2 separate regions of the Homo sapiens genome follow, and region 2 is linked to region 1. Evidence: promoter capture Hi-C in 16 types of primary human blood cells and fetal thymus (Javierre and others, 2016). All regions are on one chromosome and are shown on one strand. Each heading gives the region's core, a stretch centred on a gene start or on the middle of the fragment in contact. The rest is flanking DNA. Distances are from core to core; before and after follow the strand shown.

Region 1 (5,633 bases), core at 1,737-4,236:
AAATTTCTCGGTGCCCTTAGCTTTGAGCAGCGCCCTGTGTTCTCAGCGCTGGGCTTGGCTAGTGCGGGAGCGGTTGCTGCTAGAGGGTTGCCTTGGCAGGCGCCTCTCGCACCAGCTACAGGTCACACTTGTGGATGGGAAATGCCTTTTGTGGGCTCTCCCCCTCCCCAGACAAAACAAAAGAGCACCTTCCGTTGGAGAACCAGGATGAAAGCACTTAGCCCCTGCCTAGCCCGTGCTGTGAGTCCTCTCCAGGCACTTTGACTTGGCAGGGTCCGTGTGCCTGTGTGAGGGACATTGCAGGGATGGGCCTGAGCAGGGAGTCCACCGGCCATGGGGGATGGAGCCATCGACTTTGGGGTGAGGCAGGGAAAGGGCTCCCAGATGGGGTACCTGGATTAGGTCCATTCAAGCCGCGGGTGAACGTGGGCCCGCTCCACCCAAGCCGTGGCTGTGAGGAGGCTGGAGAGAGGTGAGGGCTCCTGTCCCCTCCCTGCATGGACACCCTTGGGAAGTGGGGCAGCTGGGGTCCCAGCCTGGGTCTGGAGGGGTCCCACCCACAGCACAAATAGGCTCGCAGGCCACCCGGACGCCACGGGCTGCGTGGAGGAGAACTGGAGTGCATGGACCCTGCTCTCCTCCCCGGCTGCCAGGAGTGTCCACTGCTTTCTAAGTCAGACTCCTTGGGCAAGAAGTGTTGCCACAGCCGCCCGTCGCATGGGAGACCGGCTTCCATTCTATGCGGAGTCCACGGTCTGCTCTGATCTTGCTGTGTGGAGTTGTTGTGTGCGTGAAATGCTTGTGACCCTGCGAAGCGCCCTCCTGGCAAGTCCCCTGCAGGTGCGGTGGGTGCCATGCAGGAGGGTGCTGAGCTTGGATGGAAGCAGGCCCTCTCTGCGGCAGATGGCGGCTCTCAGGACGCCATGGGTCTGCGGTGTCCCTTACCCACTGGGGGGGCTCGGCAGCCTGAGGAGCTCCCTCTTCCTGATGCAGAGCCCTCACTGCTCACTGCCATGGAGGAGGCAGGAGATCCCGCCGGACCCCGCTTGGAGGGCTGGGCCTGGAGCATGCATGGGTGCGGGGTCAACGCCTCAGGAGACTTGGAGCTTGGGAGCCCCCTGTTCTGGGACACTTGTGGCCGTCCAGCTGCTGCCCTGGGAATCCACACCTGGAAGGTGGGTTAGGGAGCCATCCTTGGGGGAAGCTCTGCTTTTGAGTCTGAGAAGTCGTCCCAAGTTTTGAGGGTCCCTGTGCTGGCTTAGAAGTCCATGTAAAGCTTGATGGGGGATGAAAGTCAGCTGAGGCCTGCCGGTGATAACGGATGCCTTACACACACCGACTTCCAGTCAGCTTGAGGGGGGCTTCATGCAGGAGGAAGCGCATACGTGTGGTGGGGTGTGGGGAGTCCCTCTCTGGATCCTGGTGGGTTTGGCACGCGGACCCTACATGGTGGATGTGATGGACAGTGTCCTCCTTTGGGAGCGGGGCCTGTCCTGGTCCTCTTGTGAAGGGTGGGGGACAGGCACTGACCTGTCAGGAGGGTTAGAGGGTTGGCACCAGCAGGTGGCCTGGAGCGCTCAGAGCACGCGCGATCAGGAAGGCCCGAGTCTCCAGTGTGCCCTCCCTGGCCTTGTGAAGTCATCTTAAAGTCTGGCTTGAGCGCCTCTGACTTGGATTCTGGGAAGCTGACACAGCGCGGCCGGGGTCGCCACATCCTGTTGAGTAGCCGCTGGGTGCTAGGCGCCTGGGTGGTAGACCAGGTGTCAGGGATAGGGCCCATGCCTGGCCTACTGGGGAGAGGACAGAGGCTCAGAGGGGTCACCTCGAGCGCCCAGGCCATTGTGTTCTGCTGGCTTCCAAGGCAGCACACGGTCATGGAACTGGAGAGAGAGGTTTATGGAAGATTTTATCTGGTACACTGGGGAATGGTAAGACAGGGACACCTGGAAATATTGTAGGAAAGTCACAGAGGGAGGAAGGACTCAGCGGAGAGAGGAGAAAGCCGCCTCTGGGCAGCTTCGAGGATACCCAGGACTGTGGCCGGGGGCCATGCAGCTCAGAGCCAGGCCCATGGCAGGTCTCTGGGTTTATTGGGTGGCTGTGGAAGGAGACATCCTGAGTGGGGCTCCTGGCTGGGCCCCTAGAGGCCGTGACTACTTGTACCTGTGCAGAGTGAGCACAAGGCACCTGGCAAGATTGTTGGTCAGGCCAGAGAGGGCCGTGATCTGGGGGAGGCTGTTGCAGTGCGGGGAGTGATAGGGAACCTCATGGGGCCGTGCCGGCCTTTCTGGGGCTCTCTTGGTGCATTTGGAGTTATTCCGAGGCAGGTCTCCTGGGCTCTGTCAGCACTCTGGCCTGGATCACTCTGGGGCACCGTGGGCACTGCAGGGTGCTGGGCAGCACCTTTGGCCTCCATTCACTCCGGGTCAGGAGTACCCCCAGTCGTGACAACCACAAATGTTCCCAGACATCACCCAGTGTCCTGCTGGGGGGAGAGCCACTGTCTGGGAGCATCTGTGCTTTTGGCCTGGTTGCCCCTGCGCTGGGGGCCGCTGCTCCTTGTGGTTTATGGCTTGTCCTGTGTCGGCTCCTTTGATTCCTGTGAATGGGCCTTGAGGGTGGATGTGCTCCTGACTGGCTCGCCTTGGCTCCAATGGTCTGGAGCAGGCCGGTGTCTAGAAAGGCAGCAGCATGGACCCTGGCGCTTGCCCTTCACACAGCAGCTCCCCAGTGGCCCAGAGCTAGCAGCAGCGCGCAGCGTGCCCAGCTGTGCTTGTAGCCTTGGCTCTAACCCTTGGCTTTGCCAGAGAGACTGAGGCACAGAGGAGTTGAGGGATGGGCCCGGGGTCACCCCAGGGGGTGGAAGATCCGGAGCTGGGAGTCCACACTCCTCCACTGCCCGCCCCGCACAGAGGGCGCTCCTGGTCAGGCGGCTATGTTCATGGTGCGACCCGTCAATCTGAGGTTGTGCTGTCTTCTGTGAACTGAGGCCTTTTCCCATCCAGGCCTGGTCCCCGTGACACCATGTCATGATGTCAGAATCCCTGAGAGCTGTGACAGGGCTTTTGGCAGAGGCCAGTCATTCGACAGATGCTTATAGGCTGAGCTTCCAGCTTGGCTCCAGGCGTTGCCAAGGAGAACACTGGTCCGCCTGGGAGGGCGGGGCTGGCAGGGAGAGGATGAGGGTGACCACAGTTAGCACCCAGGATGTGGGCATTCAGGGGCTCCTTCAGCACACAGCAGCGCGTTCCAGTTCACGGACCGCTCCTGTGTTCTGTGGACCCCACACCCTGCAGGCGTGGGCTGGAGGGGGGGCATCTGACCCTGCTGGGGAGAGGGAGTCCAGGCTATGGAGGGGCGGGCTGGGCTCACTGGCCTGAGGCAGTGGGTGAAGTGGTCCTGGTTTCCCACCTGGTCTTAGGGGCAGGAAAGTCCCTAGAGGCTCTTCCTGATGCTCTGGAAGAAGAGAAGGGTTCCCCACACATCAGCCGCCACTGGGCCTGGACTTCTGCCTCTTGAGATTGTGCACGGAGCTGAGTGTGACTGGCGGAGCCCAGAGCCAGGTGGGGTCTGTGGGGAGGCAGGCTCCTCCTGGCTTGGTCCCCCGGCCCAGCAGGAAGGGAAAGGTCGCCTGCCAACTGCCCCCATTGAGGCTGCTGGCCCCGAATGGCCGGGCTGGCCGCCGGTTTTTGAAGCCCACTCTGGTGCTGCCAGGAGGTCAGGGCTCTTTGTGGTCAGCCTAGGCCAGAGGAAGCCTCTGCAGATGGACTTTACGCATAAATACCGCACAGGCACCCGAATGGCACGCAGCAAGCGAGGTTGCCATCCAAAACGGCTTTTGCTTTAACAGGCAGAAGAGGGTGGCTGCGCCGGCCACCGTGGATTGAGCACCTGCCAGGTGTCGAGCTGCAGGCCCTGGGTGCCAGGCTTGCAGATCCTGGGAGATGTTCATCATGACCTTTGATGGGCAGACTGCACGCTGGACTCCAGGTTGCAAGGGAAGAAGTGGAGCTCGTCCCACGCCTCCCCCACTAATGAGAACACCCCTTTTGGGTTTGTGGGGTGTGAGGTCTGTAGGAGCCACGACTTCCAGTGTCGGAGATGCCGTCAGCTGGGTGATGACTCTCCCACCCAGCGGGCCCCTCAGAGGCAGGGTGCAGGAGCCACATTGCTCACCGACCCCTTCATCTGCGTAGGCCAGTGTTGCCTTGCCCCGTTAACGTCCTCAGTCCACACGCCGCCAGCCAAGGTGCAGGCTGAGCAAGCCTGGAGCTGAGGACAAGCGGACCGCCAGCCCCGTAGCAAGCCCACGAGAGCCAGCAGCTCCTCCTTTTGGCCTCTGCCCGCGCCCGGCTTCCTGGACTCCGACGTTTACTTGTGTGAGAGTTGGTTCTGCTGCCTGGGCAGTTGATGGACAGTGTCTGGGAGGTGCCTGCCCAGGGCTCCGCATGTTTCTGATGTGCCGGCTTCTCACTCACGACCTGGTGAGGTTGGCAGCCAGGAGCTTTCTTATTTTATTGATTAAAACATCCTGAGATTCAGAAGTAGGGACTTTGTGCCAGGGCCCTGGAGGCAGTCCCTGCCACTGAAGAGATGACCCTGCTTTCCGGGACTTCCCGGAGGCTTCTGTCTGTAGACCAGGGAGAAGGTGTTCGCCGGTGGCTCCTGAGTGGTAGTAAAAGACACATGGACACAGGAAGCTTTAGCGTTAGAAGCTGCTCTCAAATATCTCAACAGAAACACACAGTGTGGCCGCGCGCGGTGCCTCACGCCTGTCATCCTAGCACTTTGGGAGGCCGAGGCGGGCGGGTCACCTGCGGTGGGGAGCTCCAGACACAGCTATGTGAAACGAAAGCTATCTGTTGCTGTCTCAGATTCCATAAGGACTGAGACTTGTTTCAAAAGAAACTGAAATTCTGTCTTGTTCTCAGTAATGAAAGTCTTTTATACCATAATTGTATATATAACTTCTGACTTACAGGAAAATTACAAAAATTCCCATATCCTCTTGGCCCTGCCAGACTCACCATTGGCTGACATTTTACCCTTTGGCACGTGGTGCCTCTTGCCCCACCCCCAGTGAACTGTGTGTGTGTGTGTGTGTGTGTGTGTGTGTGTGTGTGTGTGTTTAGATGGACCCTCACTCTGTCGCCCAGGCTGGAGTGCAGTGGCTTGATCTTGGCTCAGTGCAACCTCCGCCTCCCGGGTTCAAGCAGTACACCTCGAGCTCAGCCTCCCGAGTGGCTAGGATTACAGGTGCGCACCACCGAGCCCAGCTAATTTTTGTATTTTTAGTAGAGATGGGGTTTTGCCATGTTGGCCAGGCTGGTCTCGAACTCCTGACCTCAGGTGATCCGCCCACCTCAGCCTTGCAAAGTGCTGGGATTACAGGCGTGAGCCAGTGCACCCATCCCCACTGTGTGTGTTTCTACTGAAATATTTGAGAGTAGCTGGAGACCGATGCAGTCCCCTTTATGTGTACACTGAGATATCTATTGTTTCCCAAGAACAATGACATTCTCTCACATGAACACAGCACAGTGATCAAAATTGAGAAAGTGGCCGGGCGCAGCTACTCACGCCTGTCATCCCAGCACTTTGAGAGGCCGAGGCTGGTGGATCACGAGGTCAAG
Region 2 (5,978 bases), core at 602-3,101, 780 kb before region 1:
TCAGAGTGCTCCAAAACTCAGGAGATACTTTTAGGATTAACAGTTGAGAGCTTTGTTTTGTTTTGTTTTGTTTTTGAGATGGAATTTCCCTCGTTGCCCAGGCTAGAGTGCAATGGCATGATCTCGGCTCACCGCAACCTCCACCTTCCGGGTTCAAGCGATTCTCCTGTCTCAGTCTCCCCGGGTTCAAGCGATTTTCCTGCCTCAGCCTCCTGAGTAGCTGGCACTGCAGGCGTTCACCACCATGCCCAGCTAATTTTTGTATTTTTAGTAGAGACAGTGTTTCACCATGTTGGCCAGGCTGGTCTTGAACTCATGACCTCTTGATCCGCCCGCCTCGGCCTCCCAAAGTGCTGGGATTACAGGCGTGAGCCACCGCACCAGGCCTCGGACCCTTGACCTCTTGATCCGCCCACCTTGGCCACCCAAAAGTGCTGGGAGTACAGGCGTGAGCCACCGCACCAGGCCTCGAACCCCCGACCTCTTGATCCGCCCACCTCGGCCACCCAAAAGTGCTGGGATTACAGGCGTGAGCCACCGCACCTGGCCAGGTTTTTTCCCTTTATAAAGGTTCTCCCGCCTCTCCCTTCCCGGCTGCCTAATGGACGCAGACAGGATGTGGGACAGAAGCACCGGCGGGAAGCAAGCACAGGGAAGCTCCCACCTCCCTCCCACACCACCAGCCAGGCCAGGACGAGGGCCTGCCACCGCTGGAGCCTGGGCTGTCCCTCCCAAGTTTCGCAGTCATCCAGTCTCCATTAGGCGCCTACCCCCCAGAGCCAAGCCAGGACAGCTGAGTCAGTTCAGGGTTCACATCCTGGCTCTGCACATGTGGCCTTGGCGGCGGGGCCGGGGGGGGGGTCTCTCCAGACATAATCTTGGGCCTCACCTATGTCCCTGGAAAGTGGGAGCACCTGGTGGGGTTCTGGGGAGGGGGAATTACGAGAGCTCCAGGAAGGAGCCTGCTCAGCAAGGACAGGGCCCATGAGCGGTGCAAGAGATGTTTCAGCAACGCCGTCTGGGCGTGTCCTGGGACCCGAGAGGTGGAGACCGCCCTCAGCCTGTCTCAGAATCTGAGCCTTTGCCTTTTCTCCCGGCAGCAGGGAGCGGACTCTCCTCTCCCGGGCCGCCGTGGGGGTCGCGCTCACCCTCCAGCAGCTCCACGTGGCCCCAGTCCTTCCTGCGGTCTTGGTCTTGCTCCTGGGGGCTGGCGGACGAGCTCCTCCTGGGGCCGCAGACGCCACCGGCGGTCCCTGCGGGAAAGACGAGAGCGGCTGAGCGGGGCCGGGCGTGTGGGCGGGGGCCTCCATAAAGGCAGAAGCCGAAGGGTCGAAGGGCAAAGGAGCCCTAAACGCAGCGGAAACTCTCGGAGCACGGGCTTAAGTTGGAAAGAAACTAAGACAGCGAAGGTGGAAGGGCCCCGCCGCGGCGAACACGGGCGCGGAACCGCCGAGAGAGGGTTCCTCGCACTCGAGGTGCAGCAGGTCAAAGGTTAAGAGCCCTAAACACCACACCTGGGGTCAGGAGGCTGCATAAGAAACCACGAGTCAAAGGTCAGACTGCACGGAGGAGCCTCAGTCGAAAAGCGGGCAAGGGCGAGTGGAAAGCGGGGCCGGGTCGGTGGGCTGCGCACGCCCAGGTGCAAAGAGGCAAAGGTCAAAGCGCCAAAGGCCCCGGCCGCGCGGGGAGGAGCCCACGCCGTGGCCCCCGGGCTGCCTGGCCGTCTCCCTTTGTGTTACCTTCTTTGCCGGGGAGTCCCGGGCGGCCGCAAGGCCGTAGGGCTCGTTTGAGCCCCGCCGCTCCGCGGCCCCAGCAAAGTGCCGACATTACGCACGCCGCTCCAGGCCACCCCACCGGCCCGCGCCTGCGCATGCGCCCGCGCCGCCTGCCGGGAGTTGTGGTTTCATGGTCGACGGAGGCTGCGAAGGGAAACCCCAGCCGGAAGTAGACTCCCAGGATGCAGCGGAGGCGCGAAGGCATGCGCCGGTGGACGCTCTGATTGGTTCCTCCTGCTGTTTTTAAAGGGAGGGGGCGGGACAGAGCTGTTGCCGTGGCAACTGGGAGGCACTCTCAGGCTGTTTTCCCGAGGACCTCAAATCCGGACTTTTTTTCTGTTTTTCTTTCTTTTTTGGTTTTGTTTTGGACGCGTTGTGGCCCAGGCTGGAGTGCAGTGGCGTGATCATAGCTCAGTGCAGCTTCGAACTGCTGGGGTAAAGAGATCCTCGCCCCTCGGCTTCCCAAAGCGCTGGGATTGCAGACGCCGCCACCGTGCCCGGCTTTTTTTTTTTTTTTTTCAAGGCATACTCATCTAATAACGAGGACAGCATCTGCAATTTAGAGATTCCTGTCCGCAACCTTCATTGCTCCAACGACAACTTTTGGGTAAGAGTCATTAGGATGCCGTCTATCATGGAGGAAGCTGAGGCTCAGAGAGGGCCACCAAGTTGCTGGAAGACACAGCACGTGCGACCTCAGGGAGGCTGCAAGGAGAGAAAGCCCCAGTCCGCGAGACTCCCAGCCTCCAGCTTCAGTTTACCCTCCAATCCCCAAGCCCTCAGGGGCAGGAGCCGAATGGAGCGGCAGGCTTGGATTCACCTGCTAAGTGGGGTGAGGTCAAGGGAATGAAATAAACCTCGGAGCCTAGAGCCTGCCCTGGTCTCCGCGTGATCCTGCCTAGGAGGAGCAGGGCGGGAGCTTTAGAATGGAACCTGGAAGGTGTGCCCACCTGTGTCGTTCAGCCGGGGCAGCAGGCCAGAGGCGGGAGCGCCTGCTGTGGGGCAGTAGGCTTGGGAAGGGTGAGAATAGGAATATCTGGGGGTAACTGTGTTCCAGGCTAATATCCCAGTTGCAAAGGGGAGCTGGTTTGGTGGCTCAGGCCTGTCATCCCAGCACTTTGGGAGGCTGAGGCGGGCGGATCACCTAAGGTCAGAGTTCGAGACCAGCTTGGCAAATACGCAAGCATGCCTGGCAACATGGCAAAACCCCGTCTCTAGTAAAAATACAAAAATTATCCGGGGGTGGTGGCGGGCACCTGTAATCCCAGCTACTCGGGAGGCTGAGGCAGGAGAATCGCTTGAACCCGGGAGGCGGAGGTTGCAGTGAGCCAAGATCTCGCCACTGCACTCCAGCCTGGGTGACAGAGCGAGAACCTGTCTCAAAAAAAAAAAAGTGCAAAGGGAGGTCAGTTCAGTGCCTCAGGCCTGTAATCCCAGCACTTTGGGAGGCTGCGGCGGGAGGATCGCTTGAGCCCAGGAGTTCCAGACAAGCCTTGGGCAACCGAGATACTGAGACCCAGTCTCCACCAAAGGAAAAAAAGAAATTAGCCAGGCATGGTGGTGCACACCTGTGGTCCCAGATACTCGGGAGGCTGAGGCAGGAGGACTGCTTGAGCCCAGGAGGTTTAGACTGCAGTGAGCTGAGATGGCGCCACTGTACTCCAGCCTGGGTTGACAGAACAGGACCCTGTCTCAAAACAAAACAAGTGCAAAGGCCCTGAGGCAGGAACAAGCGTGGACAGAGGAGCAATTTGAGCAGAGTGGGGCTGGGGAGAGGGAGCAAAGATGTAGCTGGGGCTCAGTTAGGGGGCCTGACCACACGGGGGCTCGGGGGCCTCAGCTCAAGCTATCCTCCATCCCCAAACCCTGGCACTTCAGTTTCCCCATCAGCCCAGAACGAGGACTCGACCTCACTCTGGAAGGGCCTGGCAGCCTCCTTACAGCACATTCCAGACGCTGCTGCCGACGCCTGCGTGAGCGCACTGATGCCACCGGCTGGGAATGTTTTCGACAGACGGCAGCACCCTCCCTCACCTGCCTCAGTCCACCTCAGGGTGCCCCAGCGGGCTGTGACCTCAGACCTCACCCACTACTGGGGTCACCTGCCTGGCCCTGAATCAGCCAGGCCTGGTGTGCCAAGACCTACAGACACCCCCTGCACCCCTGCAGGCTGGCAGAGCCAGAAACTTGGGTGGAAACCGACTTCTGAACTATTTCACCATTCCTTATGCGTTAGTCTTTTCTTTTATTTGATGAGATCCCAGCACTTTGGGAGGCCGAGGCGGGCGGATCACGTGAGGTCAGGAGTTTGAGACCAGCCTGGCCAACATGGTGAAACCCCGTCTCTACTAAAAATACGAAAATTAGCCGGGCATGGTGGCCTGTGCCTGTAATCCCAGCTACTCAGGAGGCCAAGGGAGGAAAATCACTTGAACCTGAGAGGTGGAGGTTACAGTGAGCCAAGATCGCACCACTGCACTCCAGCCTTGGGCAATGTAGCCAAACCCCATCACTACAAATAATACAAAAAAATTTTGTTGGCTGTGATGGTGCCTGCCTGTGGCCCCATCTACTTGGGAGGCTGAGGTGGGAAGATGTAGAATTGCTTGAGCCAGGAGGCAGAGGCTGCAGTGAGCTGTGATTGAGCCACTGCACTCCAGCCTGGGCGACAGAGCGAGACCCTGTCTCAAAAAAAAAAGAACATAATCTGGGTTTTGGAATAAGACAGCAGTTTCTGAAACAGCTCATTGCCCAAATTCCAGCCTCGCAACTCTGTAGCCGCCACCACCCCCCAGCCCCACCATTTATTTTAACTACATCTGTCTCCACCACTCCTGTATTAAGTAAATGCAATATTGGCTGGTCATGGTGGCTCATGCCTGTAATTCCAGCACTTTGGGAGGCTGAGGCAGGCAGATCCCCTGAGGTCAGGAGTTCGAGACTGGCCTGGCCAACGTGGTGAAACCCTGTCTCCACTAAAAATTCAAAAATTAGCCGGACGTGGTAGTGGGTGGTGCCTGTAATCCCAGCTACTTGGGAGGCTGAGGTAAGAGAAATGCTTGAATCCAAGAGACTGAGGTTGCAGTGAGCTGAGATCTCGCCGCTGCACTCCAGCCTGAACGACAGAGCGAGACTCCGTCTCAAAAATAAATTAATAAATACAACATTAATTATTTTTCTTGCTTAAGTTTTACGAAGAGACTTAATATCACCATCAAAAGTGGGAAACCATATATCTGGCCGGGCGTGGTGGCTCCCGCCTGTCATCCCAGCACTACGGGAGGCCGAGGCGGGCGGATCCCCTGAGGCCGGGAGCTGGAGACCAGCCTGGCTAACATGGTGAAACCCTCATCTCCAATAAAAATAACAAAAATTAGCCGGGCATGGTGGGTGCCTGTAATCCCAGCTATTCAGGAGGCTGAGGCAGAAGAATCACTTGAACCCGGGAGGCGGAGGTTGCAGGGAGCCGAGATCACACCACTGCCCTCCGGCCTGGGCGACAGAGCGAGACTCTGTCTAAAAACAAAACAAAACAAAACCCAACCAAGCAAACCCCACAGAGTCGAGAATCGCTAGATGGAAGGGGATGGCCCAGGTCCCTGGAGCCCCTGTGACAAATTACCACAAACTCGGTGCCTTAAAGCAACGTTCATTTTCTTACATTTCTGGAAATGAAAAGTCCAAAATCAGGACTGCGGGGCTGAAGTCAAGGTGTGTGGAGGCCTCGCTCCCTCCAGAGGCCCTGGGGCTCCTTCCTGCCTCTCCCAGCTTTTGAAGGCTCCAGGTGTGCTTGGCCTGCGGCCACATCACTCCCGTCTCGGTCTCTGTGGTCGCACTGCAGCCTCCTCGTCTGCCTGTGTGAAATCTCCTCCTGTCTCCGTATTGTGACCGCGTTTAGGATGCCCCAGGACAATCTTCTCCATATCGTTCAGATCTTCATGGTGTCAATATATTGAGACTCTTTTTCCAAATAAGGCAAATGTCACATTCTAGGGATCAGGGTGGGGACTTACCTTTGGGCCAACCACAGAGGCTACAAAGAGGAAGACACCACTCAATACAAAGCGTGCGCCAGCCCAGCCCTGATCGGTGTTTGTTGTTGTTGTTTTTGTTTGAGACAGAGTCTCGCTCTGTCGCCCAGGCTGGAGGGCAGTGGCATGATCTCAGCTCATTGCAACCTCCGCCTCCTGGGTTGTATAGATT

What was found. The method cuts DNA at HindIII sites, captures the fragments that hold promoters and counts their contacts. A CHiCAGO score of 5 or more calls a contact.
Region 2: the fragment with the promoter of POLRMT here is called in contact with a fragment that was not itself captured in region 1 in 1 of 17 cell types (neutrophils); the score reaches 5.5 in neutrophils.

What each region holds. Positions count from the first base shown.
Region 1 is chr19:1,408,905-1,414,537 of GRCh38, forward strand. The region is part of intron 1 of DAZAP1 (DAZ associated protein 1); the gene reads left to right. Among named protein-coding and RNA genes, the nearest start is that of DAZAP1, 4.1 kb to the left of the region's middle. The HindIII fragment of the contact is 3,424 bases long and covers 1,275-4,698 here.
Region 2 is chr19:631,686-637,663 of GRCh38, forward strand. It overlaps POLRMT (RNA polymerase mitochondrial), which reads right to left and starts at 1,852. Exons shown (of 21, transcript NM_005035.4): 1 at 1,740-1,852; 2 at 1,149-1,253. The coding sequence starts at 1,827. LOC105372234 (a long non-coding RNA gene) reads left to right here and starts at 1,779. Exons shown (of 2, transcript XR_936226.2): 1 at 1,779-2,210; 2 at 2,299-5,978. RefSeq lists silencers at 1,636-1,795, 1,806-2,065 and an enhancer at 5,376-5,435. The HindIII fragment of the contact is 10,035 bases long and covers 1-5,978 here.